2 separate regions of the Homo sapiens genome follow, and region 1 is linked to region 2. Evidence: promoter capture Hi-C in 16 types of primary human blood cells and fetal thymus (Javierre and others, 2016). All regions are on one chromosome and are shown on one strand. Each heading gives the region's core, a stretch centred on a gene start or on the middle of the fragment in contact. The rest is flanking DNA. Distances are from core to core; before and after follow the strand shown. Region 1 has its middle 150 kb from the start of ATF7IP. Region 2 holds the start of SMCO3 (single-pass membrane protein with coiled-coil domains 3).

What was found. Contacts are between HindIII fragments. The CHiCAGO score rates a contact against its expected background, and 5 or more counts as called.
Region 1: a contact is called between a fragment that was not itself captured here and the fragment with the promoter of SMCO3 in region 2, in 1 of 17 cell types (neutrophils). The highest score is 5.8, in neutrophils.

Annotation. Positions count from the first base shown.
Region 1 is chr12:14,216,718-14,222,947 of GRCh38, forward strand. No RefSeq gene overlaps it. Among named protein-coding and RNA genes, the nearest start is that of ATF7IP, 150 kb to the right of the region's middle. RefSeq lists enhancers at 3,310-4,509, 4,351-4,650. The HindIII fragment of the contact is 1,958 bases long and covers 2,888-4,845 here.
Region 2 is chr12:14,811,420-14,817,595 of GRCh38, forward strand. SMCO3 (single-pass membrane protein with coiled-coil domains 3) reads right to left here and starts at 2,763. Exons shown (of 2, transcript NM_001013698.2): 1 at 2,707-2,763. The region is part of intron 1 of C12orf60 (chromosome 12 open reading frame 60); the gene reads left to right. The HindIII fragment of the contact is 14,101 bases long and covers 1,272-6,176 here.

The DNA.
Region 1 (6,230 bases), core at 2,617-5,116, 590 kb before region 2:
AATCGAGAAAAACCTTCGATAAGGAGAAGACTTCTCATCTCATTTCTGGGGTCTGGTCCGGGATTTCTCCAAAGCGGTGAGTAACCTCGGACCCCTTTCAGTTGCTATTCTATCTTCTCACTAGAAATTGGAGGAAAACACCCAGCACCTGTCAGCCATTTAAAAGTGACAAGCACAGCCCAGACTTAAGACATGGGTGTGAGGCTTTCTGGGAAAGGGCTCTCTAGCAACCCACGGCCCTCCAAGCTGGGAGCGTTGGTTTAACTGGAACCAGTTCCACCTTTCTCTACCTTTCCTGGGAAAAGCCGAGGGCTGGCTAGAGGTGGAAAACTGTCTTCCCAAACTCCTGGCACTGACCCAGTGGAGATCATGGCACAGTGAGAAGCCTCTACTCCACAACTGCCCATGCATGAGTTCCCTGCCTTTTCTGACCTATGCCTCCTGGGTCCTAACATCCTCAGAGAAGACTTTCTTGAGGCCCTGTCCTCTAGGATCTTTCCTACCCCTGAGTCTAAGAATCTTTTGGCTAGGAGCCTAAGTCGAGGGGGCTGGCAATCCAAAGACCCTTGCCCATGGTGTCCTCAGGCTTATTCTTATGCAAATGAGTATCAGTATACTTATACAGGACCTGTCCCTCATAACCTGTACCCTAGGCACTATCTGGGACATCAAAAGGCATGTCAGTGGCTGATAGAAGGCCTAGGACATTTTTCCCTTTGTTGCCCTAAACTTTCTCCAGATTGTAGAGGCTACTTTAATTACCACCTTTCCTGTCTGGGATCAGCAATTAGAACTGTAGAACTTCTCCACTCGAAGCAGTCAGATGTATGGGCCAAAAACAATATAATAGACAATAGGTCCCCAATCCAAGTCCAAATGTCAATGAATATTCTTATGAAGGCAAACAGGGGACAGAAAATTCAGGTATGAAAAGCACTGGTCCTCCAATTTGCCACTACCTACCCTAAAACTGTTGTGCTTCAGTGCTATTTTCAAGGAATTTATCTTGCTGGGACAGCTCCAAGCCCAGAAATATGCTAACTGGTGCCTGGTCTCTGAACTCAAAATACACCCTGAACCTAAGACCCACTTGCAGATGCAAAGGCAATTGTGTGCATGCTGGTAAGGAGCCACTAAAATCCAGCAGCCCCAGCCCCATTTTTTGTGGCTAAAAAAGGGTGGGAAACGGTGTGGGCAAAACTGCTACATCAGTAAGTGCAATTAAATCCAATAAGCATGGTTCCATGGGTGACTGTGCACCCTGGAAACCTGGAAAGAAAAGGACACTAGAACCATAGGGGACACACTAGGGCTAGTGCTCACTAGGGGATGACTAGGGGTGCAGGCACTCCTATGTTCTCCTTTCAGATGGAAGACATTCCCTCAAAAGCAAAGCCACCCCTGAGGTGTATTCTGGATAATTAGGACCAATTTGACCCTCAAACACTGAAGAAGAAGCGACTTATATTTTTCTGCAGCACCACCTGGCCACAATATCCTCTTCCCAGAGGAGAGACACGGCCACCCAGGGAAGTATAAACTATAATACCATCCTACAGCTAGATCTCTTTTGTAAATGAGAGGGCAAATGGAGTGAAGTGCCATATGTATAGGTTTTTTTTCTCACTAAGGGATAACCCACAATTATGTAAAAAAAAATGTAATTTACATCCTACTGGGGGTCCTCAAAGCCTACCCCCATACTCAGGTCTCCCCATAGCTCCCCCTCCAACTAGTAAGGACTCTCCTGTGGCCCTTATGGCCCAAAAGGAACCAGACAAAAAGTCAAGGAACCAAAAGGCGCCAATGGCCCTCAATTGTGCCCCCTCCAAGTCGTGGGAGGAGAAGGAGACTTTGGCCCAGTGCAAGTACATGTCCCCTTTTCCCTCTCAGACTTAAAACAGATCAAACTGGACCTAGGAAAATTCTCAGATAATCCTGATTGACGCATAGATATCTTACAGGGATTAGGACAATCTTTTGATTTAGCATGGAGAAATATGTTGTTGTTGTTAGGTCAAGCATTAACTCCCAACAAAGAAGAGGCCACCTTAGCTGCATCCCGGGAGTTTGGGGATCTCTGGTACCTAAGCCAGGTAAATGATAAAATGAGATCAGAAGAAAGGGAACAATTCCCTACAGGCCAACAGGCGGTTCCCAGTGTGGATCCCCACTGGGACCTCAGTTTGGAGCACAGCCATTTACTGACTTGTATACTAGAGGGATTAAGAAAGACCAGAAAAAAGCCAATGAATTACATAATGATGTCAACCACAATGAAGGGAAAGGAAGAAAACCCTACAGCATTTTTAGAGAGACTAAGAGAGGCATTAAGAAAGCATACCTCCTTGTCACCTGACTCTATTGAAGGCCAACTAATTTTAAAGGATAAGTTTATCACTCAGTCAGCTGCAGACATTAGAAAAAACCTTCAAAAGTCTGCCCCAGGCCCCAAGAAAAATTTGGAAACTCTATTGAATTTGGCAACTTCAGTGTTTTATAATAGGGATCAGGAGGAGCAGGCTGAATGAGACAGAGGAGACAAGAAAAAGGCCGCCACCTTACTCATGGCCCCGCCTTAGTTATGGCCCTCAGGCAGACGAACTTCGGTGGCTCTGAAAGAAAGAAGGGCTGGGCAGGCAACCAGCCTAACAGGGCTTGTTATCAGTGCGGCTTACAGGGGCACTTCAAAAAGGACTGCCCAAACAAAAATAAGCCACCCCCTTGTCCATGTCCCTTGTGCCAGGGGGATCACTGGAAGGCACACTACCTCTGAGGGTGAAGGTCCTCTGGGCCAGAGGCCACTAACCTGATGGTCCAACAACAGGACTGAGGGTACCCATGGCAGGCGCCAGCCCGTGCCATCACCCTCACAGAGCCCCAGGTAAGCTTAACCATTAAGGGCCAGGAAACTAACTTCCTCCTGGACACTGGCACAGCCTTCTCAGTTTTAGTCTTCTGTCCCGGACAACTATCCTCCAGGTCTGTCACCATCAAAGGGGTCCTAGGACAGCCAGTCACTAGGTATTTCTCCCACCTTCTAAATTGTGACTGAGGAGCCTTATTTTTCTCACATGCCTTTCTTATCATGCCTGAGAGCTCTACTCCTTTACTAGGGAGGGACATATTAGCTAAAGGAGGGGCCATAATAAACTTGAATATAGAAGAAGAAATACCTGTTTGCTGCCCTCTACTCGTGGAGGGAGTTAATCCTGATGTCTGGGCAGAGGAAGGACAATACAGATGAGCAAAAAATGCTTGTCCAGTTCAAGTTAAATTAAAGGATCCTACCTCCTTTCCTTATCAAAGGCAGTACCCCCTCAGACCAGAAGCCCAACAAGGATTACAAAAGATCGTCAAAGACCTAAAAGCACAGGGATTAGTAAAACCATGCAACAGTCCATGCAACACTCGTATTCTAGGCATACAAAACCCCAACGGACAATGGAGGTTAGTGCAAGACCTCAGAATTATCAATGAGGCAGTTGTTCCTCTGTATCCAGTTGTACCTAATCCTTATACTCTACTCTCCTAGAAACCAGAGGAAGCAGAATGGTTTACAGTCCTAGATCTTAAGGACACTTTCTTCTGCATCCCTCTGCATCCTGACTCTCAATTTTTATTTGCCTTTAAAGATCCGTCAAACCCAGGGTCTCAGCTGACCTGGACTGTCCTACCATTCATTATAGGAGCTGGGATACGAGGAGGACTAGGAACCGGCATTGGAGGCATTACAACCTCCATCCAATTCTATTACAAATTATCACAAGAGTTAAATGATGACATGGCATGAATCGCAGATTCGCTGGTCACCTTACAAAGCCAGCTTAATTCTTTAGCAACAGTAGCCCTTCAAAATCGGACAGCCTTAGATTTATTAACAGCTGAAAGAGGTGGAACCTCTTTTTCTAGAAGAGTGCTGCTATTTCGTTAATCAATCCAGAATTGTCACCAAGAAGGTTAAGGAGTTTTGAGATGGGATACAGTGCTGGGCACAAGAGCTCCAAGACACAGGACCTTGGAATATTGTCAATCAATGGATGCCCTGGCTTCTCCCCTTCTTGGGGCCCTTGGTGGCTATTGTGATGTTGCTTATCTTTGGACCCTGCATTTTTAACCTCCTTGTAAAATTTGCCTCTTCCAGAATAGAATCCATGAAGCTGCAAATGGTTCTACAAATGGAGCCCCAAGTGACCACCACTAGCACCTACTATCAAGCACCCCTAGACCCACCCACCAACCTGTTCTCACACCACGACACCAAAGACTCCCCTCCTGAGGAAACCTCAACTGCAGTGCCCCTTCTACCCCCCAGTTCAGCAGGAAGTAGCTAGAACAATCGTCATCCAACTTCCCAACAGCACTTGGGCTTTCCTGTTGAAAGGGGGGACTGAGGGACTAAGTGGCTAAATTGGCTGGACTTCCTGGGTCAATAGGGACTTCCCTAAAGTGACTTTCCCCTAAGCCAAAATGAGTCATAGCTGCAAGCTAAGAGATTAAAACTTCAACCAATCAAAGGGGATTTTCCCCTAAGCCAAAATTAGTCATAGCTGCAAGCTAAAGGGATTGAAACTTCAACCAATCAAAGGGGACTTTCCCCTAAGCCAAAATGAGTCACAGCTACAAACTAAGGGATTGAAACTTCAACCAATCATATAGGGAGTTCAAGCTCTAGCTGCAGCCTGATGTTTTTAACCAATCAGGTCTGCCAACCCACAAGTGGATAGAAAATTAGCCAATCCTATAGGACAGAAAAAGAAAAGGGGAGGAGTCATAAGGGGATATAAGCATAAGACACCCAAGCCAAAAAACACAATCCTTCTGGGTCCCCTTCCACCACATGGAAGCTTTACTTTTGCGTTCCCTTTACTTTCCCTTTCGCTTTACTAAATCTTGCTGCCATAAAAAAAAAAAAAGAATCCCAGCCTGGTACAGTGACTCACACCAAGGAAGGCAGATCGATTGAGACAAGGAGTTCAAGACCAGTGTGGGCAACATGGCAAAACCCCATCTCTACAAAAAATACAAAAAAAAAAAAAATAGCTGGGAGTGGTGGTAGGTGCCTGTAGTCCTAGCTACTCAGGAGGCTGAGGTGGGAGGATCACTTGAGCCCAGGAGGTTGCAGTGAGCCGGGTTCATTCCACTGCATTCCAGCCTGGGCAACACAGCCATATCTTGGCTCAAAAAAAAAAAAAAAAAAAAAAACAAAAAAAAACAGAAGGCTATAATCTCAAGCACTTTGGGAGGCCAAGGCAGGCAATCACAAGGTCAGGAGATCAAGACCATCCTGGCTAACATGGTGAAACCCCGTCTCTGCTAAAAATACAAAAAGTTAGCTGGGCGTGGTGGCGGGCGTCTGTAGTCCCAGCTACTCGGAAGGCTGAGGCAGGAGAATGGCATGAACCCGGGAGGCGGAGCTTTCAGCCAGCCGAGATTGCACTACTGCACTCCTGCCTGGGTGACAGAGCAAGACTCCGTCAAAAAAAATAAAAGAAAAGAAAAAAGAAAAAAGGGCAGGGCGTGGTGGTTCACGCCTGTAATCCCAGCACTTTGGAAGGCCGAGGTGGGCAGATCACTTGAGGTCAGGAGTTCAAGACCAGCCTGGCCAACATGGTGAAACCCCATCTCTACTAAAAATACAAAAAAATTAGCTGGGCACAGTGGCAGGCCCCTGTAATCCCAGCTACTCAGGAGGCTGAGGCAGCAGAATCGCTTGAACCCAGGAGGCCAAGGTTGAAGTGAGCCAAGATTGCGCCGCTGCACTTCAGCCTGGGCAACAGAGCGAGACTCTGTCTCAAGAAAGAAAAGAAAAAAAAATCCCAGATGAATTTTCTTTTTTTTTTTTTTTTTTTTTGAGACAGTATCCCTGCCTCCCAGGCTGGAGTGCAGTGGCGCAATCTCAGCTCACTGCAAGCTCCGCCTTCCAGGTTCATGCCATTCTCCTGCCTCAGCCTCCCGAGTAGCTGGGATTACAGGTGCCCGCCACCATGTCCAGCTAATTTTTTGTATTTTTAGTAGAGATGGGGTTTAAACGTGTTAGCTAGTGTGGTCTCGATCTCCTGACCTCGTGATCCACTCGCCTTGGCCTCCCAAAGTGCTGGGATTACAGGCGTGAGCCACCACGCCTGACCCTAGCTTAATTTTCTTAAAAGGAAGCTGAATTGGCAGAGTTGTCCCACAGTGGACTAAAACAGCCAGGCCTTTATACCTCCACCTTGATCACTGGATGT
Region 2 (6,176 bases), core at 1,513-4,012:
GTTCTGTTGCTAAAACAAAGTTTGGAAATTTTTGACTTGTTATTTTATTAAAAAATGACAAAAAACATCTGAAAGTGCTGATGTCATTGGTCAGCACACCTTAAGAAATGAAAATGGAGACAAAGGTTAGCTTGAGATGGATGCTTACTGCACCTAACCTTGTTAATTTTTTTGAATTGAGAAGTCAACATTTAAGATTAAAGGGCATCTAAGATATGGTAGAAATATGCTGATAATTGTGTCTAAAAGTTAAGTTTTATTTAATGACATCATACAGTTGTTTTAGTTTTTCAGAAAAGGAACTACCTTACAAAATGAAAATGTACTGATCATCATATGTTCAAATACAACTCTTCAGGGTACTTTCGTGAATAACAGTAGTGCGTTGACTGTCAAGTGCTGTTGAACTTAGAAATTAATATCAAGGTGATTAGAGAAAGCTTCATGGAGAATGCAATATATGATTTATACTTTGATAGATGGTACATTATGGAGAAATTAAAAGTGAACGGTTTGGTAAAACGATTTTTAAATATATACTTATTACCAGTAACATATACACTTTTTTAAATAGAGGAGGAAAAACACCCATAAACCTACCATTTCACTTTTGATTTTTGTTATTCTTTTTCAAAATTTGTTTATATGCATAAGTATCTTCACAAAGTTATCATAATAGTATAAATAAAATTCATCTTTTATTCACTTAACACTTTCCCCTATTTATAGCTTTAAAAATATTTGGCCGGGCGTGGTGGCTCACGCCTGTAATCCGAGCACTTTGGGAGGCCGAGGCGGGCGGATCACGAGGTCAGGAGATCGAAACCATCCTGGCTAACACGGTGAAACCCCGTCTCTACTAAAAATACAAAAAATTAGCCGGGCGCGGTGGCGGGCGCCTGTAGTCCCAGCTACTTGGGAGGCTGAGGCAGGAGAATGGCATGAGCCTGGGAGGCAGAGCTTGCAGTGAGCCGAGATTGTGCCACTGCACGCCGGCCTGGGTGACAGAGGGAGACTCCGTCTCAAAAAAAAAAAAAATTTTATTGGTTACGTATACTATTCCCTGTCTTTACCCTGGTTCAATAAATCTAAAATTGTTTCACTATCACTAATATTCTAATGAGCATTTTGATACCCACAGATTTTTTTTCCTCCATTATCTGGATTATTTCCTCAGCATAAGTACCTAGAAGAATTACATAATTAGTGGCATAAGTAATGGGAATTAAATTTTTATTACTTTTGATATGTATCGTAAATTGCATTCCAAAAGCTTTTACTGTGCTACCCCAAATAAATTTTTATAGCAGGATACTGGGTATCCTGCTATAAAATTTTTACAATTTTTATTTTAGATTCAGGAGGTACATACACAGGTTTGTTCCCTGACTATACTGTGTGTTGCTGAGGTTTACTGTGAATGATCCTGTCACCCAGATACTGAGCATAGTGCTGGTATATTTCCCAGTCAAAGATGGTCCTGTTTAAATATTGTTGATTTGGGAAGAGTAAGGTTAAATTTCAAAAAGAGAAGTTCTTGCCTATTTGGAAATACATACTGAAAACATTTAAGATGAAATGAAATGGTCTCAGAGATTTGTTCACAAATAATCTGGAAAGAATAGTGGGGTAGGGTTATAGAGGAAAAAAGATTGGCCTTGTTTTGATAATTTTTAAAGCTGAGTTATGGGTACATGGGAGTTTATTATATTATTGTCTCTACTTCTGTGTATGTTTGAACTTTTCTTATAACAAATAAAAAAGAAAGAAAAAGAAAAACGTGACCCTGTCTAAACCTCTGATGTTTAGTCGTTAGTGCTCTCTGAGGTTTTACATTTCTTCTTGCTGTCACTTTTCTTCACTGTCCAAACAGGGTTTTGCCATCATGCACAGTTTCCTTATCTGGGAGTGTGGAAATAGGGTATAGGTAAAATCAGGAGCTTTTCAGAAGAAAATAACAGCTTCTAACTAGTTCTGAGTCTCCTTTAATTCAAATAAAAATCTGTGGCCTTTAATTAAAACAAAAATTGATCATGATGTGATGATATACTTTCTGATATAAATTCATTTAAAAAATGTTTCTGACCAGAAAGAAGAATATTAAAGTCATTCATCAGCATTTATCAAGTGCTCACTGGTGAAGCCTCTACTGTGTCCCTTGAGGCATTTGAAAACGACAATGTTCCTTGCCCTCAAGACGATAACAGCCTGTTTGGAGACACACAGCAAATGCTCAGAGATATTTAGATACAACATAATTTATGAAGGAGTATAAGTACTATACATTAACCAGTATTAGATTCCACATTCATTCTTTCATAGATAGGTACTGAGTGCCTATATTAATATTAATGACATAGAAGGAAATGTTACTATCCATGTAAACTTCACACATTCACACAGGTATCATTTCATCCTTAATCCTTCTTAGAATTGATGTCTTTACTGCTTCTCTTCCACTCTGACTTAATCAGTCCTAGAAATTGTTAATTTTCTTCCTTCTCTGCTGTCTTCAGAGAAGGCACCAGGAAAGGTTCCTTCCAAATCACAAGGAACATGTCATGGGATCCTCTTATAACAAAGCTGTTTTTTTACTTTATTTTATTTATGGTTAGGATTCAAGACTGACGGGCTAATTCAAATTCCTCCTACTACTGAGAAACAGAGTATTATATCAATACTAATAGAAATATCCACGTTGCTTACCTTGCTGTGTTTCTGAGTTCCGTGGTCCTAGCAGTTGTTTAGGAGTATTGTTAAAGTGCTTTTTCATCTGGTTTCATCTGGATATTTCTGATGGAATGTGATGACTTACAGACTTTGCTAGTCTCTGCTGGGTCCCTCTGCCTGTCTGGTTTATAGGCTATTTCTACATGGCTTGGCCCTCAGAATTCCTTCATTTCCTATTAATAAAAACTTAGTATACAGTATTAAGTTATATAAACTGGAAGACTAATAGTGTGTAAAACTTATTTTTAAATTTCTGTTCTTTAATGGACTTTTTATTGTTGAGAAGCGCTATATAACTGAGCTAATTCAATTTAGTAGAGAAGATGGCTCTTTGATTGCAGCTCTCAGATTTTGGGGTTTTATCTTGTCAACTATTCCAGATACTAAGTTTCTTTTAGCTTCTGTTGCATTTGCACCTCTAACTGTTGCTGATTATTTAAATTCTCAAGATATATAAATGCAGTTACTTGCATCCAATTTTTTTTTCTCTTCTTTCCAGCTAGGAGTTCTCCTCTTTGTCATTCTTTCTCTTCCTGTGTTTGTAAATTGTCTTGACAATATAAAAACCTTAAAGTCCAACTTCACTCTTTTCCCTGAAAGCTCAGATCAGTCTTCCCTGCTGCTTCTTCCCAGCTTCAGTCTTCAGACCCGTTAATTCCTCCACAGCAAAGACACCTGAGTGGCAGGGAAATCACTCAGCCCCAGTGTAACTTAGTGAAAGACAGCAGGCTTTACACTCAGACAGTCCTGGTTTTGTGTACTCCAAGTACCACTTACTAGTCATGTAATCCTAAGAAAGTCACTTAGCCTGAGTTTTCCCATTGGTGTAATATGAGTATTAGTTAATAATTTATGGATTAAATGGGATAGTGTTTATAAAGTAATTGGCATAGTGGCTGATATGTGGCAAAATCTTATGAAACGGTAGCTATTCATATATTAACAACAGTATCTCCTGGTGGAGGGGAGAGGAGAATGGGTGGGTACAGGATACAGAATCAAAATGCCAGACAGGCAGACAGGAAACTTTAAAATCTAAAGATGCTGCCCTGTGATTCTAAAGAAGGGCTAAGTGGGGTCACTTTTCTACTTTTGTCCCAGTGGATCATCTTGCCCTTGATGTATCCAGGGCCCCACCACGTACGGATGTGTGGCCAGTGTATCTGAACTAGGTATGGATGTTAAGTAGGATTTTAATAGATGTTTGGGGAGGATGGTGGTATAGAGGAAATAATACAGATAGAGGGAACACTGAGAGCAAAGGAGCTGAACCAAAAATTGTAGAACATTTTCAGGGAACAAAAACCAACCTGCTGGTGATACAGGGTGTAAGTGGGAGCAGTTAAGGGAAGGTAAGTCATGGAAAATTGAAAATAGTTTGTAGATAGCCTTAGATGTCATGCTAGGAAATTGTATTTCATTCTGTAGATAATAATGAACCATTAAAAAATCCTTTTAATTATGGTGTAATATTTGGAGATTTGGATTTCAGGAAGGGTACATTATGTAAACTTGATTAGTAGGTATGGACAATAAAGCATAAGTTACCAACCCCATTGCCTACAGTATGTGGACAAAATATGTCTGTCTTTTACCCTGTCTTAAAACAGTTGCATTTTGTTTCCGAAGAGGCTATTGTTGAAGAGTACCATTTAACCCACTTGTTCCTAAGGTGTTTGTTTCTCTCCTATTTCTACCCTTCTTAACATTTATTGCCTACTCATCCACTCCTTTCTCTCCTACCACATAGCAGCCTAAGTGGAGTTGCCAAAATTAAGGATAAACAGTAACAATGCAAAATAATTATCAGAGAAAAACTAGAAGCAATATTGACTTCATACTGAGCCCCCTAATCAACTTGAACTTCTTTTTTCTGCAATCAGTTTCTCAGGTTGAAAACTTGAACTTCTTAAATCTTTCTTGACTACTAAAGCCAGTATTAACGTCAAGTCAATAGTCAGAACTGAACCTTAGGAAGGAGGCACATTTTCTTAGTGTAGATCTTGGAGTCAGGGTGGTTTTAGGGAATCAGGAAGGCTGATTTGACAAGTTTCACTGCTGGATTGACAGTGGTGGGAAATGAGAGTGAAAGCAATAATATCTCCAAACTTATCTGCATGTAGCTCTCACTTGATCGTCTTTTATTTAGAATGCTTTATTTTCCCTTTTATCCTAAAGCTCATCCCCTTCTTTTCCTAAAATCTCTGCTCAAAAACCATATATTACATGACCCTGAATAAACTGCCCGATTCAATTACGATTGTTTCAACAATTTGCCAGCACTTATGAATGCTGCACTTAAAAAAAAATCAAGCAAACCTAAAAATAATCACCTTTTTGACCCAATAGCCTCCTTTATCTTTCTTCTTCACAGTTAGACTTCCCAGTTTGGTAGTGTACATGCATTGCCTCTACTTCATTTTCTCCATTAATTTTCCAGTATTTATAATCTAGCTTCTGTACATATTCCTGCCTCTTGCAAAATTGCTTTTCTAGCATTGTCAATGACATTGTAATGACTAAACATAAGAAATAATTTACAGTGTTTATCATACTTGCAGCATTTGAAATTGCTGATCAGGTCTTTATATTTTCTCTTTTTTTTTTTTTTTTGAGACAGAGTCTCACTCTGTCACCCAGGCTGGAGTGCAGTGGTGCCATCTTGGCTCACTGCATCCTCCGCCTCCCAGGTTCAAGCAATTCTCCTCCCTCAGCCTCCCGAGTAGCTGGGATTACAGGCGTGTGCCACACCCAGCTAATTTTTGTATTTTTTAGTAGAGACGGGGTTTTGCCATGTTGGGCAGGCTGGTCTCCAACTCCTGGCCTTAAGTGATCTGCCTACCTCAGTCTCCCAAAGTGTTGGGATTACACTAAAATAAAATACTTAAATATAAATCTAAGAATATATGAGCCACCATGCCCGGCCAATTTATCGTTTTTTCTTTAATGGATATGCTTTTGGTGTCATACATATCAAAGGACTAATCAGCTAACCAAAAGTTACAAGATTTTCTTCTGTATTTTCTTCTGTTTTATGGTTTTATATTTTTCATGTCCCATTTTGAGTTAATTTATGTATGTGTATGGTATGACATAAAATCAAGGTTTATGTTTTTGCATATGGGTATCAGGCTTTTCCAGCACCATTCATTGAAAAACCCTAAACTTTCTTTTTTTGTTGTTGTTCTTTCTTTGTTTTTTGTTTTTATTTATTTCTTCCAAAACAAAAGGGAGGATACATGTGCAGAATGTGCAGGTTTGTTACACAGGTATACATGTGCCATGGTGGTTTGCTGCACCTATTGACCCATCCTTTAAGTTCCCTCCCCTCGCCCCCCACTCCTCAACTGGCCCTGGTGTGTGTTGTTCCCTTCTCTGTGTTCATGTGTTCTTATTGTTCAACTCCCACTTATGAGTGAGAACACGTGGTGTTTGGTTTTCTGTTC